Regions from separate parts of the Homo sapiens genome. Here all the other regions are linked to region 2. Evidence: promoter capture Hi-C in 16 types of primary human blood cells and fetal thymus (Javierre and others, 2016). All regions are on one chromosome and are shown on one strand. The core of a region is centred on a gene start or on the middle of the fragment in contact, and the rest is flanking DNA. Distances in the headings are between cores, read along the strand shown. Region 1 has its middle 8.0 kb from the start of CSK. Region 2 holds the start of SEMA7A (semaphorin 7A (JohnMiltonHagen blood group)). Region 3 overlaps LMAN1L (lectin, mannose binding 1 like). Region 4 holds the start of CYP1A2 (cytochrome P450 family 1 subfamily A member 2).

What was found. Contacts are between HindIII fragments. The CHiCAGO score rates a contact against its expected background, and 5 or more counts as called.
Region 1: a contact is called between a fragment that was not itself captured here and the fragment with the promoter of SEMA7A in region 2, in 6 of 17 cell types (M0 macrophages, naive B cells, M1 macrophages and 3 more). The highest score is 7.4, in M0 macrophages.
Region 3: a contact is called between a fragment that was not itself captured here and the fragment with the promoter of SEMA7A in region 2, in 1 of 17 cell types (M1 macrophages). The highest score is 5.3, in M1 macrophages.
Region 4: a contact is called between the fragment with the promoter of CYP1A2 here and the fragment with the promoter of SEMA7A in region 2, in 3 of 17 cell types (M0 macrophages, endothelial precursors and M1 macrophages). The highest score is 7.7, in M0 macrophages.

The regions. Positions count from the first base shown.
Region 1 is chr15:74,772,429-74,775,733 of GRCh38, reverse strand. No RefSeq gene overlaps it. Among named protein-coding and RNA genes, the nearest start is that of CSK, 8.0 kb to the left of the region's middle. RefSeq lists enhancers at 196-265, 286-395, 1,495-2,072, 3,029-3,305. The HindIII fragment of the contact is 2,186 bases long and covers 560-2,745 here.
Region 2 is chr15:74,432,217-74,435,297 of GRCh38, reverse strand. SEMA7A (semaphorin 7A (JohnMiltonHagen blood group)) reads left to right here and starts at 1,340. Exons shown (of 14, transcript NM_003612.5): 1 at 1,340-1,557. The coding sequence starts at 1,380. RefSeq lists silencers at 1,198-1,707, 1,758-1,907, 2,058-2,177. The HindIII fragment of the contact is 7,034 bases long and covers 1-3,013 here.
Region 3 is chr15:74,820,323-74,823,579 of GRCh38, reverse strand. LMAN1L (lectin, mannose binding 1 like) reads right to left here. Exons shown (of 14, transcript NM_021819.3): 8 at 2,813-2,945; 9 at 2,354-2,505; 10 at 1,680-1,751; 11 at 871-938; 12 at 1-21. Among named protein-coding and RNA genes, the nearest start is that of CPLX3, 4.7 kb to the left of the region's middle. RefSeq lists enhancers at 470-1,282, 2,097-2,910, 2,911-3,257. The HindIII fragment of the contact is 5,744 bases long and covers 1-3,257 here.
Region 4 is chr15:74,747,314-74,750,510 of GRCh38, reverse strand. It overlaps CYP1A2 (cytochrome P450 family 1 subfamily A member 2), which reads right to left and starts at 1,666. Exons shown (of 7, transcript NM_000761.5): 1 at 1,614-1,666; 2 at 1-781. The coding sequence starts at 772. RefSeq lists promoters at 773-1,910, 1,576-3,197 and a cis regulatory region at 2,997-3,197. The HindIII fragment of the contact is 9,803 bases long and covers 1-3,197 here.

The DNA of each region.
Region 1 (3,305 bases), core at 403-2,902, 340 kb before region 2:
GATCCAGAGCCAAGTCTATGACAAGAGTTCGCCAAGGTGCCTGGGATCCCTGCAGGCTGTCCCAGCGCCTCCCCCACGCACACGATTCCCTCCTCCTGGGTCCCTATCTTCTTGGAATGTTCTGTCTTGTGGGGGCAGAGGTGTTCAACAAGGCGAGGCAAGTTCCCAGAGGATTGTGCAAGTGCAGTGTGAGTGCGGAGCAGAGACCTCTCCTCACCTGAGCACTCAGACCCTGCAGGAGGAGAGGTGGTGCCTGGGGGCCTGGCAGAGGGGGCAACAGGAGCAGAGGCCCTGGAACTGGAAGGGATTGAGCTTTGGGCAAAAGGAAAACAGGCCAGGATGGGATGGGGTCAGAGCCTTGGAAGCAGAGGCGCAAATGGCCAGAGCCTGTAGGATCCCCTGTGGAATAGGGGAGTCTTTGGACTTCATCCTTAGGGCATCGGGGCCCCGCCCCCATGCTATTTGAGGGTTCACCACAGCCTCAGCTGATCAGATTTGCATGTTAAAAATATTACTTCTGCTTCTGGTTGGAGAATTGACTGGCTGTCCTCGGGAAGCTTTGATGACCTCTTCCCACATCCCAAGGCTGGAAGCCTCCCCTCTGCTATTGTCCCTCACTGGCCCACTTCTTAGTATTATAGCACTGACTACCCACTTCGTATTTGTGTCCTGATCGGCTGCTGGAGGCTGAATCCTGGTACTCAAACGTTTGTTGAATGAATAAGTGATATGAATTTCAATTAATAATAATAATAATAGGCAATGCTAATGTAGGTGTTGCATGTGCTAGCATCATTCTAAGCATTTTACGTGTCTTTTTGTTTGTTTGTTTTTGAGACAGAGTCTTGCTCTGTTGCCCAGGCTGTAGTGCAGTGGTGCGATCTCATCTCCTGCAACCTCCACTGCCACCCCCCTCCCCCCACCCTGGGTTCAAGTGATTCTCCCACCTCAGCCTCCCAGCAAGTAGCTGGGACCACAGGCACATGCGTGCCATCACACCCAGCTAATTTTTGTATTTTTAGTAGAGACAGGGTTTCGCCATCTTGGCCAGGCTGGTCTGGAGCTCCTGAGCTCAAGTGATCCACCTGCCTTGGCCTCCCAAAGTGCTGGGATTACAGGTGTGAGCCACCGCACCCTGCTGTTTACTTTTTTTTTGAGAAAGGGTCTCCCTATGTGCCTAGGATGGTTTTGGAGCTTCTAGGCTCAAGCAATCCTTCTGCCTCAGCCTCTCAGAGTAGCTGGGACTACAGGGGCCTGCCTGGCTATTCTACATGTCTTAAGTTTCATTTGATCCTCCCAATCTCTTTACAATGTAGATATTATTATTACTTCTATTTGCAGATAAGAAAACTAAAGAGGGATTTAAGGAGGACACAGTCACCAGATCCCAGCTGGGGGAAAAGGGACCCGGGATGCCACCACATCATTCTTGCTCAATTTATTACAAAGTCTTCCAGGTTGGAGTCCTGGCTGCACCCCATCCCAGCCTTGTGACCTTAAGCAAAAGTCACTGAACCTTTCTGAGCCTCAGTTTCCTCATCTCTAAAGTGGGACTGAGAGGACCCATGTCACAGGGGACTTATGCTAAACCGAGATGATGTAAAGTTGCTTGCTTAGCAGGGTTCTTTGACACAAGGCAGACTTTCACACCACGGCAGTTAGATGAATATTTTTTCTCTCACTCCTGAAACAGGCTTTGTAGTTCTGGCTCTCCCCTGCTGGGTTCAGTCGGGCTTTCCAAGGGTAGGGCCAGGCCTTTTGTCTGTTCCTAGGCCTACAGTTTCGCAATGGCTGATGAATTGAAAACCCTCATTCATCCATTCACTAAATATTGAGGGCGTGTTTACTACCTTCCAGGCACTGGAGCAGCTGGAATTGGGCAGAGCCAGAGCTACCTGGTTCCCACCTGGAGTCCTGGGCTCACAGCAGGCTGACATATCTCCCTCAATGCTGTCAGGGGTCACTTTTGTGCTGAACCCAATAGTCCCCAGGCTCTGCCTTGCTGACTGGAAGCCGCAGTTGGCACTGTTCTGGCTTTCCTCCTGGGAACTCTTTGGGCGAAAGCAGGAAAAGAGGCCCTGGGGTTCTCTGCAGTGCAAAGGTTAGAGACCTGGCCCAAGGTGGGGCAGGTGAGAAGGAGCAGGAGGTCTGCTCTGCGAGGGCTGGGAAGAGAGAGCAACTGGGCACTGGTGAGCCTCAGGCCCAGCTTTTGCAAAACCCATGCAAATGCCCCCGCCCAGGTGTTACACCTGTGAAGAAACCTGTGTGCCAACATTGTCCCTGTCAGAGATCAGAGGAGCTTTTGAAAGACCTCCTTGCCTGATTGGGGGTGGGGTGGAACTGGGCTGGGGGCTGGGGCCAGGGATAGATACTCCCTGAGCCGGAGGAGACTTTGGAAGCCCCAGTGAGTCAGGGATGAGGCCTGGAGGGCCCTTTGTCAGGGGACTCCAGAGGACCTGGAGGGAAATGCCCCTTCCTTTTGGCCCGTAAGACCCCCAGAATTTCCTTCTAGAGAGTGTGTGTTTGGGTGAGGTGAGCTCCGTGAGGACAGGGACTGGCTCCCTTTCTTCTGTCTCTCCATGGGAAGGCACAGAGCCTGTAGCCATAAATGTGTGCTGAATGAATACGTGAGTGACCAGATTTTCCCCCGGGGGTCTCAGGGCTCCCGTTCCAAGGAGAAGCTCCTTGCCTGCATCCCTATTGCCCGCGCCCCAGTCTATCTTCTTGAATCCCTAACTGGAAGCTTTGGGTCTCCAGGAGTGCTCTCCTGACATTGAGGTAGCCCCGGGAGGTCCCAGTCACCTCTCCCTCCAGCCAGGGTCAGTTCCTTCTTTTCTTTTTTTTCTTTTATTTTGAGACAGAGTCTCACTTTGTCGCCCAGGCTGGAGTGTAGTAGAGCGATCTTGGCTCCCTGCAAGCTCCATCTCCCAGGTTCAAGTGATTCTCCTGCCTTAGCCTCCTGAGTAGCTGGGACTACAGGCGTGTGCCACTATGCCTGGCTAATTTTTGTATTTTCAGTAGAGATGGGGTTTCACCATGTTGGCCGGGCTGGTCTTGAGAAATCCTGACCTCAAGTGATCCACCTGCCTCGCCCTCCCAAAGTGCTGGGATTACGGTGTGAGCCACCGAACCCAGGGCCGATCCTTTTTTTTTTTTTCTGAGACAGGGTCTTGCTCTGTCACCCAGGCTGGAGTACAGTGGTGCGATATCAGCTCACTGCAACCTCTGCCTCCTGGGCTCAAGCAATCCTCCTACCTCATCCTCCCGAGTAGCTGGGACTACAGGTGCATGCCACCACGCCCAGC
Region 2 (3,081 bases), core at 91-2,590:
CTTGAGTTTACCTTCCTGGCCTGCTGGGGTGCCTCAGGACTCTGAGGGAAGAAGGAGGGGACAACTGGAAGCAAAATGTAGAATGGTAAAGCCAAACTTCTTGGTAGCAAAACTTTCCTGGTTCCAGGAGGTAAAAACAACAACCAAATGGTCCTGGCCCCATGGAGCAGGGCAGAGGGCAGAGGGCAGCCAGCCCACCGCCTTTGCTGGTGTCTGCAGTGCGTGAATCGTGTCTAGGTCTGTGAGTTCTGAAGGTTGGATGTTCACCTCTACTCCTTCCTCGGCCTGTCTCCTCTCAGTGCAGCTAGACATCCAGTAAACACTAGATAAGTACTTACTGAGCTGGGTGGATTTTCCATTCATGGTTCCCTGGGGCACAAGTGGAAGTGGTAGGTCTGGGCCCTGTCTGGTCTAGAGAGAGGAGACCCTTTTACAAAGGGCAGGCACGTAGTTCTGAGAGGAGGAGCTGATGGCAGAGCTGGCTGGACTGCTCAGGTAACTGCAGAGGGTCTGGGCCTGGACCCCCCAAGGGAGTCCCCACTGAATGGTCAGGTTGCCTGAGATAGCTGAGCCCTAGGCACTTTGCGGGCAGAGATCCCCTTAAGCTGCTTTGACCCTCCCTCCCCCACAGTGAGTGGGGCACGGGGGATGCTCCCCTCTCTACTTGGGGAAGGGGCCTTCCTAATTATATCCCCCTCCACTCACATGGAAATGAGTTTGGATTTTCTGAGCGTACACCAGCTGGCTTGGGGGGAGGCAGCCCAGAAGGCTGCTGGCTGGGAAAGGGAGGAGAAAGGAGAGGGAGGGGAAGGAGCCAGGCCAAGATGAAAAATTTCCAGTGTTCTCCCAGGCAAAGCAACAGCGGGTCCCTGAGTGCTCCCCACATATCATCGTTGTGCCTGCTGGTAGGCTCAGCAGGGAGCCGTGTCCACTTAGGCGAACGCATCCTCCGAGGACCATAGTCCTCAGGGTGCGAACCACTTAGCTGGCCATAGCAAGGTTGTTGGGTGTTGGACTCCTCTGCGCCCTTGGAGAGAGGTCCTCCACGACTTCTACGCCAATCTTTTTACGGGGTGCGGGGAGTGGAACTGAGGCCCAGAGAGGGGATAGGGCCTGCCGCCCCTGGCAGAAGACCACAAGTCTGGCTTGTCCGCAGCTGGGCTTTCCCCGTAGAGTTGCCCGGGAGAGGGTGGCGAAGGTTCCCCCAGCAGTTCCGCTCTCGCTCAGGAAAGCCAGTGAGGCGAGAAAAGGCTGCGAGGGGCGGGGGGAGGGGCGGGGTGGGGTCAGCGCTGGCTCCGCCTCCTGGCGCTTGGGTCTGCCTGCGGCCGGGCGCTGGCTCAGTCTCGGCTGATTGCCGCTGTCGCTCCCGGGGCCACGGGATGACGCCTCCTCCGCCCGGACGTGCCGCCCCCAGCGCACCGCGCGCCCGCGTCCCTGGCCCGCCGGCTCGGTTGGGGCTTCCGCTGCGGCTGCGGCTGCTGCTGCTGCTCTGGGCGGCCGCCGCCTCCGCCCAGGGCCACCTAAGGAGCGGACCCCGCATCTTCGCCGTCTGGAAAGGTAGGCGGCGCCGCGCGGCCGGTCAGGCGCGGGATCAGACGCTGCGCGGGGCGGGTGCGGAGTGTGCTGCACCCGGAGGGAGTGCGTGCGCGCAGCTCTGCGGGTCCCGGGCTGTCCCCGCGCTGTCCCCGCGTGGAGCGTGTGGGTTTGGGTGAGTGTGTGTGAGTGTACACGCTGGCACACCAGAGCCGGCTGTAACGCTGCGGCGAGCGAGCGGCGGGGGCCGGAGCCCCGGCTAAGTCGCACCAAGTCCCTGGCAGCCAGGAGCCGCAACGCCCGGGCGCCAGGGGAGGGGGCGGGCCCCTCTCTCGGCCCCGAGCCACTCTGGGTCCTCTGGCTCGGGGGCTTCGGCGGAGGACCTTTCCCCGCCTGGGACCCCAACCCGGGTACCCTCCTTTTGAGCTGCGGGCTCTGCTGGCGCGCGGGGCGCAGGCTGGGCCGGCAAGGGGGGCGCGGACCCCTTGCCGCCGCCGCCGCGCTTCGGCAGCGGGAACAAAGACCCCGCCGCCTGCCCCCGCCCCCGCCCCGGCCCGGAGCTCGGGCCAGGCAAGGGGGTGGGCATCCTGCAGCGAGCGGCGGGACATGGTGCGGTGCGGCGGCTTGGGGTACCAGGGCGCTGCCTCAGCAATGCCGGGACCGGCCGCTCCCCCCTTGCCCGCACGTGGCAGTTGTCACCAGAAATCGGCTCCAGCGTTGGGGGGCAGTGCCCGTTGGGTGGGGCACGGCCGTTGGGACCCCCAGGCGGTGGATCTAGGGCGGGGGTGCAGCCTTTAGGCCAGGGTAGATAATAAGAACCTGGGGGACTGGAGTCTCCCCCAGGGCACCTCAGTTTAGACCCTGTACTATGGGACAGAAAGCCGGTTAGGCGGGGGTTTGAGGCTTTCTGCCGCGAGGAACTGATCTCCCCTCCCCTGCATTGCACACAAATGCCTCCCCGCCCCCAGTCCGATTCGGCTCTGTCCCCAAATTTGGCGTGTCTGCGGCCCCCCTGTCGTGATGGTGGGGGACTCGCAGTGGGGGCTGGGGGAACTGGTCGGGTCTGGCCCCACCGGGAGCCTTTTGATGCCTTTGGCAGTTTGCAGGGATTGCGGGAGTCTGAGCATTATCTGGGGCAGGTATTATTAGCAGAGGGGAAAAAAAACCATACACAAAACGAGTGGCCCGAACTGCCGCAGTAGCTGAGGGAATGTGACTTGCCCAAGGTCACTGAGCAGTGTGGGAGCCCAGGTGCAGGCAGGGGCTCTGATCTGGCACAGGACCAGTCCAGGTTCTGGGTTAGGGAGGGGAGAAGGATTTAGGTGGTTCAGGGACCATGAATGAGGTGCTCTGGGGACCAGCTCGGCTACCCAGCCTGAGGTGCTCCTGGAGGAAGCCGAGCAGTGCTGCTAGAGCTCCGGCCGCCTGTACATGGAGGAGGCCTGCACACCCCTCTGCCATCCCAGCTCCAGCCCAAGCTTCCTTTGCCCTCCCAGCAGCTTTGCCTTCCCTCAGTCTCCTTGGCTGTCTTGGACATCATAGCGTGTG
Region 3 (3,257 bases), core at 1-2,500, 390 kb before region 2:
GCCATGCGGACAGCTGCATCCCTAACCGGGGGTGGTAACCAAGTAAGATGACTCATTACCTCTTCTGCTTCCACCCAGATGGCCTAATCATTTCCCATCTCCCCAAGGGCAGCACATGGATGGGGAACAGGTACCATCCATGGGGCCCCTTCTTGGGGGCTGGTCTTTTCACCTCCAACCTTCTTCCTAGATCCTGAGACTTTAGCTCAGATAAAGATCTCCCTAAAGCTATCTGTGTCAACCCCAGGCTCCCCGGCTCTGCCTTCCATTCCCAGCCCCTGGGGATTTAACTCCTTTCCTTCTTCTCATCTAGGTGCCTCTCCACCCCCAACCCTAGGCATCTAGCTGTGTGTGTACAGGTGGGGCTTTAGGCTTCAGCCTGGGATGCATGCCTCCTCCACAGCATCCCCAGGACTCCCCCAACCCCCAGGGCTCCAGAGGCCTGGCCTAGAGTGGGATACCGGGAAGTTAATGGGGGCACAAAACCAAGTCAGGGACTGTCTCATCCAACTGGTCTGATCTTGGCTGTGCTCCCTCTCCAAGAGCCCCCAACAAAATGCCCCTCATCCTAGGAGCTGCCATTGAAGGAATGCTCAGATTTCTTAAGCCTCCTGAGGGTGGGAGTGTCTGAGGGGGCCTTCATGATGGGCTTCTCCAGGAGAGAATTGCTTTTTAACTAGGACTTGCAAAACATTAAACTTGATTCAATTAAATTCAAGTCAACTCAACAAACCTAACTCCACCAGTAGCCCTTCCAATTGACAGGCTGTGTGCTGGGCGCTCAGGAAATGATGGAAGGAATGAAGGGCTAATGGAGGAACTTAAGGCGGAGAAACAAGGTGGTGGAGGGGTCCCCACCCAGTCCCTTACCTCATCTCTTGCAGGGCCTGGAGCAGAGTCCACTGTCCATGGAGCAGGGCACCGACCTTGGCAGAGTCCTGCAGAGGGGCAGCCTCTTGTCTAGGGCCCAGGACATAGCCCCTCTCTTCTCAGAGCCCACCTTCCCAGCGGCACTGCAGCCTCTTCCTTCCAGAGGCCTTCCCAGATTACCAGGGCCTCCTTATTTGGACACACTGTGTTTCTCTGACCTCATCCATAAGGGCATCCACATTCCCCCTCCACTCACGCCCCTCTCCCCAGGGGTGGTTGTTTCCTCCCAACAGTGGCCACTTCAGGGTTTTCTCAAAATACTTCTCCCTTCTTATTTATTTATTTGAGATGGAGTCTTGCTCTGCGGCCAGGCTGGAGTGCAGTGGCACAATCTCAGCTCACTGCTACCTCTGCCTCCTGGGTTCAAGCGATTCTTCTGCCTCAGCCTCCCAAGTAGCTGGGACTACAGATGCATGCCACCACGCCCAGCTAATTTTTGTATAATTTTTGTATTTTCAGTAGAGACAGGGTTTCACCATGTTGGCCAGGATGGTCTCGATCTTTTGACCTTGTGATCTGCCCGATGGTGTCAGTCTTTTGACCTCGTGATCTGTCCGCCTTGGCCTCCCAAAGTGCTAGGATTACACGCGTGAGCCACCATGCCAAGCCAAAATACGTCTCCCTTCTAAAAGTGGTTCTGTCCCCTGAAGGAAGCAGAGGCCCAGCCCAGTCCTCTCTGCCCTGGTTCTCCCAGAGCACCAGCCAAGCTGGGGCCAGTGCTGGTCAACACCCAGTGTTTGGGTCCCTACCTTATTGAGTGACATGGAGAGGTGGCCACCCCTCCCTGGGGTGGATGGAATCTGGCAGGAAGCATCCAGGGCCTGGGGATAGGATCAGAGAGGCTTGGCCCTGGAGTGTAAGTCCCCTCCCCTCTTCCCCACACTAGCAGCCCAGCCTAAGCTGCTCTGACACAAGATTAAAACCTCGAGCTGTCAGAGCCCAGCAAAGCCCACAAGAGCTGCTGGCCTCCTCTGCCCAGTATCTAACACCTTGGCTGAGTTTAGCTCTCAGGCCCCCAGGCTGGGCATGACCCGAGTTATGACTCCCTGGGGGAGGAGCCAGATGGCAATGGAGATGCAATGAGGCTTCTGGTGCAACTGAGCATTAAGCAAGCCCTATGCAAATCGCATGTGAAGCTACATGCAAATTAGCACCTAGTCTATTTCTGTCATTCATCTACAGAGCTGAGTCCAAATAGCTGGCATCTCCTCTCCCCAGCCCCAGCCTCAGCCCCAGCCCCGTGCGCATTTGCTTGTGCAGAGATGCCATCCTGCATGCTGCCCTGCCCCATCCTGTGACCTGCAGCATTTCATCCCTGCCTTCCTTTCCCTCCAGGCCTTAGGGGAGACTAGTTGCTGACTACAGTGCTTGCTCCTCTTTCAGGCCCGCAGGTGGAGCCTTGGATGCCTGTAGGGCTTCTCACCCAGCCTCCGTCAGGCCTGGCTTGGCCTGGGGGCCCCAGCTGCTTCTTCCATTGTCTCTCAGCCTGGGCCAGCTGCTTGGAGAGACCCCGCAGAGCCTGCAGGATCCGGCGGTGTCTGCCCAGCGTCTCCTCCAGGTCAAAGAGCCTTTCCCCTGGGGATTAGGGCAGAGCTGGGATGGGCAGCCAGCCATGGTGGGGTAACACAGCCTATCTTATCTTTGGGGTGGCTTCTTGGAGAGGGGTGCCAGAAGGTGTGGCTGCTGCCTCCAAGACCCTCTCCTGGAAGATGAGTCTGAGTGGTAAGGTGGGGATAGCACAGAACACTTGGGCCCAGGGCCTGCTTAGATGTGGCCTCCTCAGGCCTCAGTTTCCCTACTGATTAAAGGACCCCTGGTCATAAGGGTGGAGGATGCTGTGACACTCAGATGGGCGCCACCTGCCCGCTCTCTCGGTCCCTACCTTCTCCTTGAGCTTCAGAGTCTGATTTTGGAGTTACATCCTCCCTGGTGCCCAAGCCCAGCCTTGCCCACAGCCCTTCCAGCTGCCTCGCCAGGCGGAGCTGCTGCATCTCCAGGAAGGGCTGAGGGGGAACCTAGGGGAGGAAGACAGAAAGTCGGGCCCCAAACCCATGGGAGATCCAGAAGCAAGGGGAGCCTTCCCACAGGCTTCCCCACGAGCCCAGCCTTCCTCCCTGGCCAGCTGGCCCTGCAGTTTCCAGCCCTCTGAGTTCTGCCTTCACGCAGATCCCCACCATCTTCCCTCCCTGCTGTGGCCTCAAGCCTATATGTGCTGGTCCGAGGCTCCTTTAAGCTCATCTCCTCCAGGCAGCCTTCCTTGACCCCCTGGCTGGTTGGGACTCCTCCTCTGTGCTCCCACAGCCCCCTGCACCTTTTGAGACCTGGCA
Region 4 (3,197 bases), core at 417-2,916, 310 kb before region 2:
GGTTGAAGGCCTTGAACCTCTGCAGGGCAGGGTTAGGCAGGTAGCGAAGGATGGGGAAGAAGTCCAGGGGGTTCCCGGAGGAGGCAGTCTCCACGAACTCATGAGTGTTCTTCACGAGGCTGAGCATCTCATCGCTACTCTCAGGGAAGTGCTGTCCGAAGCACATGGCACCAATGACGTTGGCCACTGACACCACCACCTGATTGTAAGGGTCGAAGTGCCCAGGCCCTGCCATCAGCTCCTGCAACCTGCTGATCAGGGCCTTAGCCTCCTTGCTCACATGCTCCTCCAGGTAGCAGGAGGATGAGGAAGCTGGGTCAGAGGCGATGGAGAAGGTGTTGAGGGCATTCTGGGCCAGGCGCCGGCGGGCAGCCCACACCGGTCCAGAGTCTGTGCTGAAGGTCAAGCTCTGGCCATCAGTGATGAGGGTGGAGGTGTAGAGGTCAGGCCGGCCCTTGAAATCGTCGCCCTGCCGCACCAGGGCCTGCCGGATGGTGTCCAGGCGGCTCAGCACCAGCACGGGCGTGGAGCCAATGCGGATCTGCAGGACGTCCCCGTAGCGCTGGCTCATCCTTGACAGTGCCAGGTGCGGGTTCTTCCCCAGGGTCAGCACATGCCCGAGCAAGGGCCAGCCCCATGGCTCTGGTGGACTTTTCAGGCCTTTGGGGACCCGAGGCCTCAAACCCTTGAGCACCCAGAATACCAGGCAGAAGATGGCAGAGGCCAGGAGAAGCTCTGTGGCCGAGAAGGGAACAGACTGGGACAATGCCATCTGTACCAACTGCAGGGAAAAAAGGAGGGACCAGGCTGAGGGTTGAGATGGAGACATTCATTCATTCATTTCCTCAGTCATTTGATAAACACTGATGCGTGTTCTGTGCTTGGCTCCCAGCTGGATACCAGAAAGACTAAGCTCCATCTACCATGCGTCCTGGGCCCACAGAGCTCACCCTTTGAGCATCACAGAATCTGAGAGCTGGAAAGGAGCCTCAAGATTCCCAACATGAACGCTGGCTCTCTCCTCCACACATCATCTCAGTTTCCACTTCTGGGGCTGGAGTAGAGGCAAGTGACCACTCCAAAATGGGGAAGCCAAGGACAGCACCCTTGTCAGCCCCTGGCACAGCATGCATGCTGGGTATTGTACCAAAGAGTCCCTGCCAGTGCTGGCTTTCTGCTGATACCTTCCATATACCCAAGGGACCAGGAGTTCCCCCTACCCAGTGACACTGAGGTGGCCAAGGTCCCAGGGCTGGTTCAAATAGCCTGTGATGCCCCCTCCCCAGGGCATTCTTTATCAATACCAGGAGGGGCACCTCCTCCAGGGATGAGTCCCCATCCTCTCACAGTCTTGGAGGTTGGGGTTGGGCTTCAGCCAGGGCCAGGGCTGCCCTTGTGCTAAGGGGGAAGCCCTCCCCATCGCTCTCCTTAAAAATGGCTTAGTCCAAACTGCTCATTTAAAATCGGGAAACAGAAGTCAAGAGCTGGGTAGCAAAGCCCGGAACTCAGGACCCCTACACCTAGCCCAGGCTCCCCGTCTTTCTGTCCCCACTAGCTTCCAGGTTCTATAGTTGGGGATCCCAGAGATTGTAAATTGGTCCCAAGAAAGGTACCTGTAGAGGCAGGTGCTTGAGATTGGCAGGGTTGTAATGGCTGGTGTGGAGCTTCTGGCTCTAGGTGAGTGGCCTTTTTATAAACACCGCCCCCTATCAGATTGGCCTGGTTGTCCTGATCACCTGATATGAAAGCTGGATCACTGAACAAAGTTGGAAGGATCAACTCTTGGCCTTGGGCCATTATCCCTCAGCTCCACCTACTACCTAAGACCCAGGGTGACTCTTTGGGGATAGGCCAGAAGGGGTGCTGGGTCCCTGGGGATGAAGGTACAGCTGTCTTTAGGGTTCAGGGTAGGGAGCCTATTTCTCTGAAGAGTAGGGTAGGGTCTGGGAGTGGGGGTTAGGCCTTTGGACTGATCTGGGCTTCTTTCCCACTGCACACATGAGGAAGAGCTCTGCCAGGGCACTCAGTCTAGGCCAACCAGGCTCACGGCCCCTCTCCAGAGGGATGTTCTTCTGTAGTACCCTCCAACAACCTGCAAAACCAAACAGTAAATGGGCGTGTTCCAGCCACTCCTGATTTTCAGCCCAAGTCCCCAAGTGGAAAAGAAGAGATGATAAAGATTTTGCATCCTAAAGAGAGGCCCCCCTTATGCAAAAAGACTAAGAGACATAACCAAATGCAATATGGATTTGCATTTGATTGCCATATCGATTGGATATGGCATTTAAACAAAATTTTAAAAAAATCTATAAAAGATGTTTTGGGGACAATTGGGGACATGTAAGCACGGACTGGAGATTAGATGATATTCTGGAATAAATGTAAATTTTTTTAGGTGTGAACAGAGTGTCATGGTATGTGGGAGTGTATCCTTATTCTTAGGAGATTAATGCTGTAGCATGGAAGTGTCATGATCCCCACAACCTCCTTTTGAATGGTTCTGTTAAAAAATGTACACCTCTAGGCCAGGCGCGATGGCTCGCACCTGTAATCCCAGCACTTTGAGAGGCCGAGATGGGCGGATCACCTGAGATCAGGTGTTCAAGACCAGCCTGGCCAACCTGGTGAAACTCCGTCTCTACTAAAAATACAAAAATTAGCCAGGCATGGTGGCATGTGCCTGTGATCCCAGCTACTCGGGAGGCTGAGGCAGGAGAATGGCTTGAACTTGGGAGGTGGAGGCTGCAGTGAGCCAAGATCGTGCCACTCCACTCCAGCCTGGGCGACAGAGTGAGACTCCGTCTCAAAAAAAAAAAAAATGTACACCTTTAAAGAGTGTAATTGGATTGTTTGTAACTCAAAGGTTTATCCTTGCTTGAGGGGATGGATACTCCATTCTCCATGAATGCTTATTTCATATTGCATGCCTGTATCAAAACATTTCATGTACCCCATACATATATACACCTACTATGTACCCATAAAATTAAAACAATGTATACCTATCTATCAATAAATCGAGAGAAAGTAGATATGAGAAATGTCAGATATTCATGGACTTACGTGAGGATATATGGTGTTTGTTGTACTAAAGGAGTCTTTAATATGGACCCAGATCTCAGTCAGATCTAAGAGGAGGAGGAGGACAAGCCTTAAATTGGATGTGAAAAGGAAGTTTGCTATCTTTTTTTTTTTTT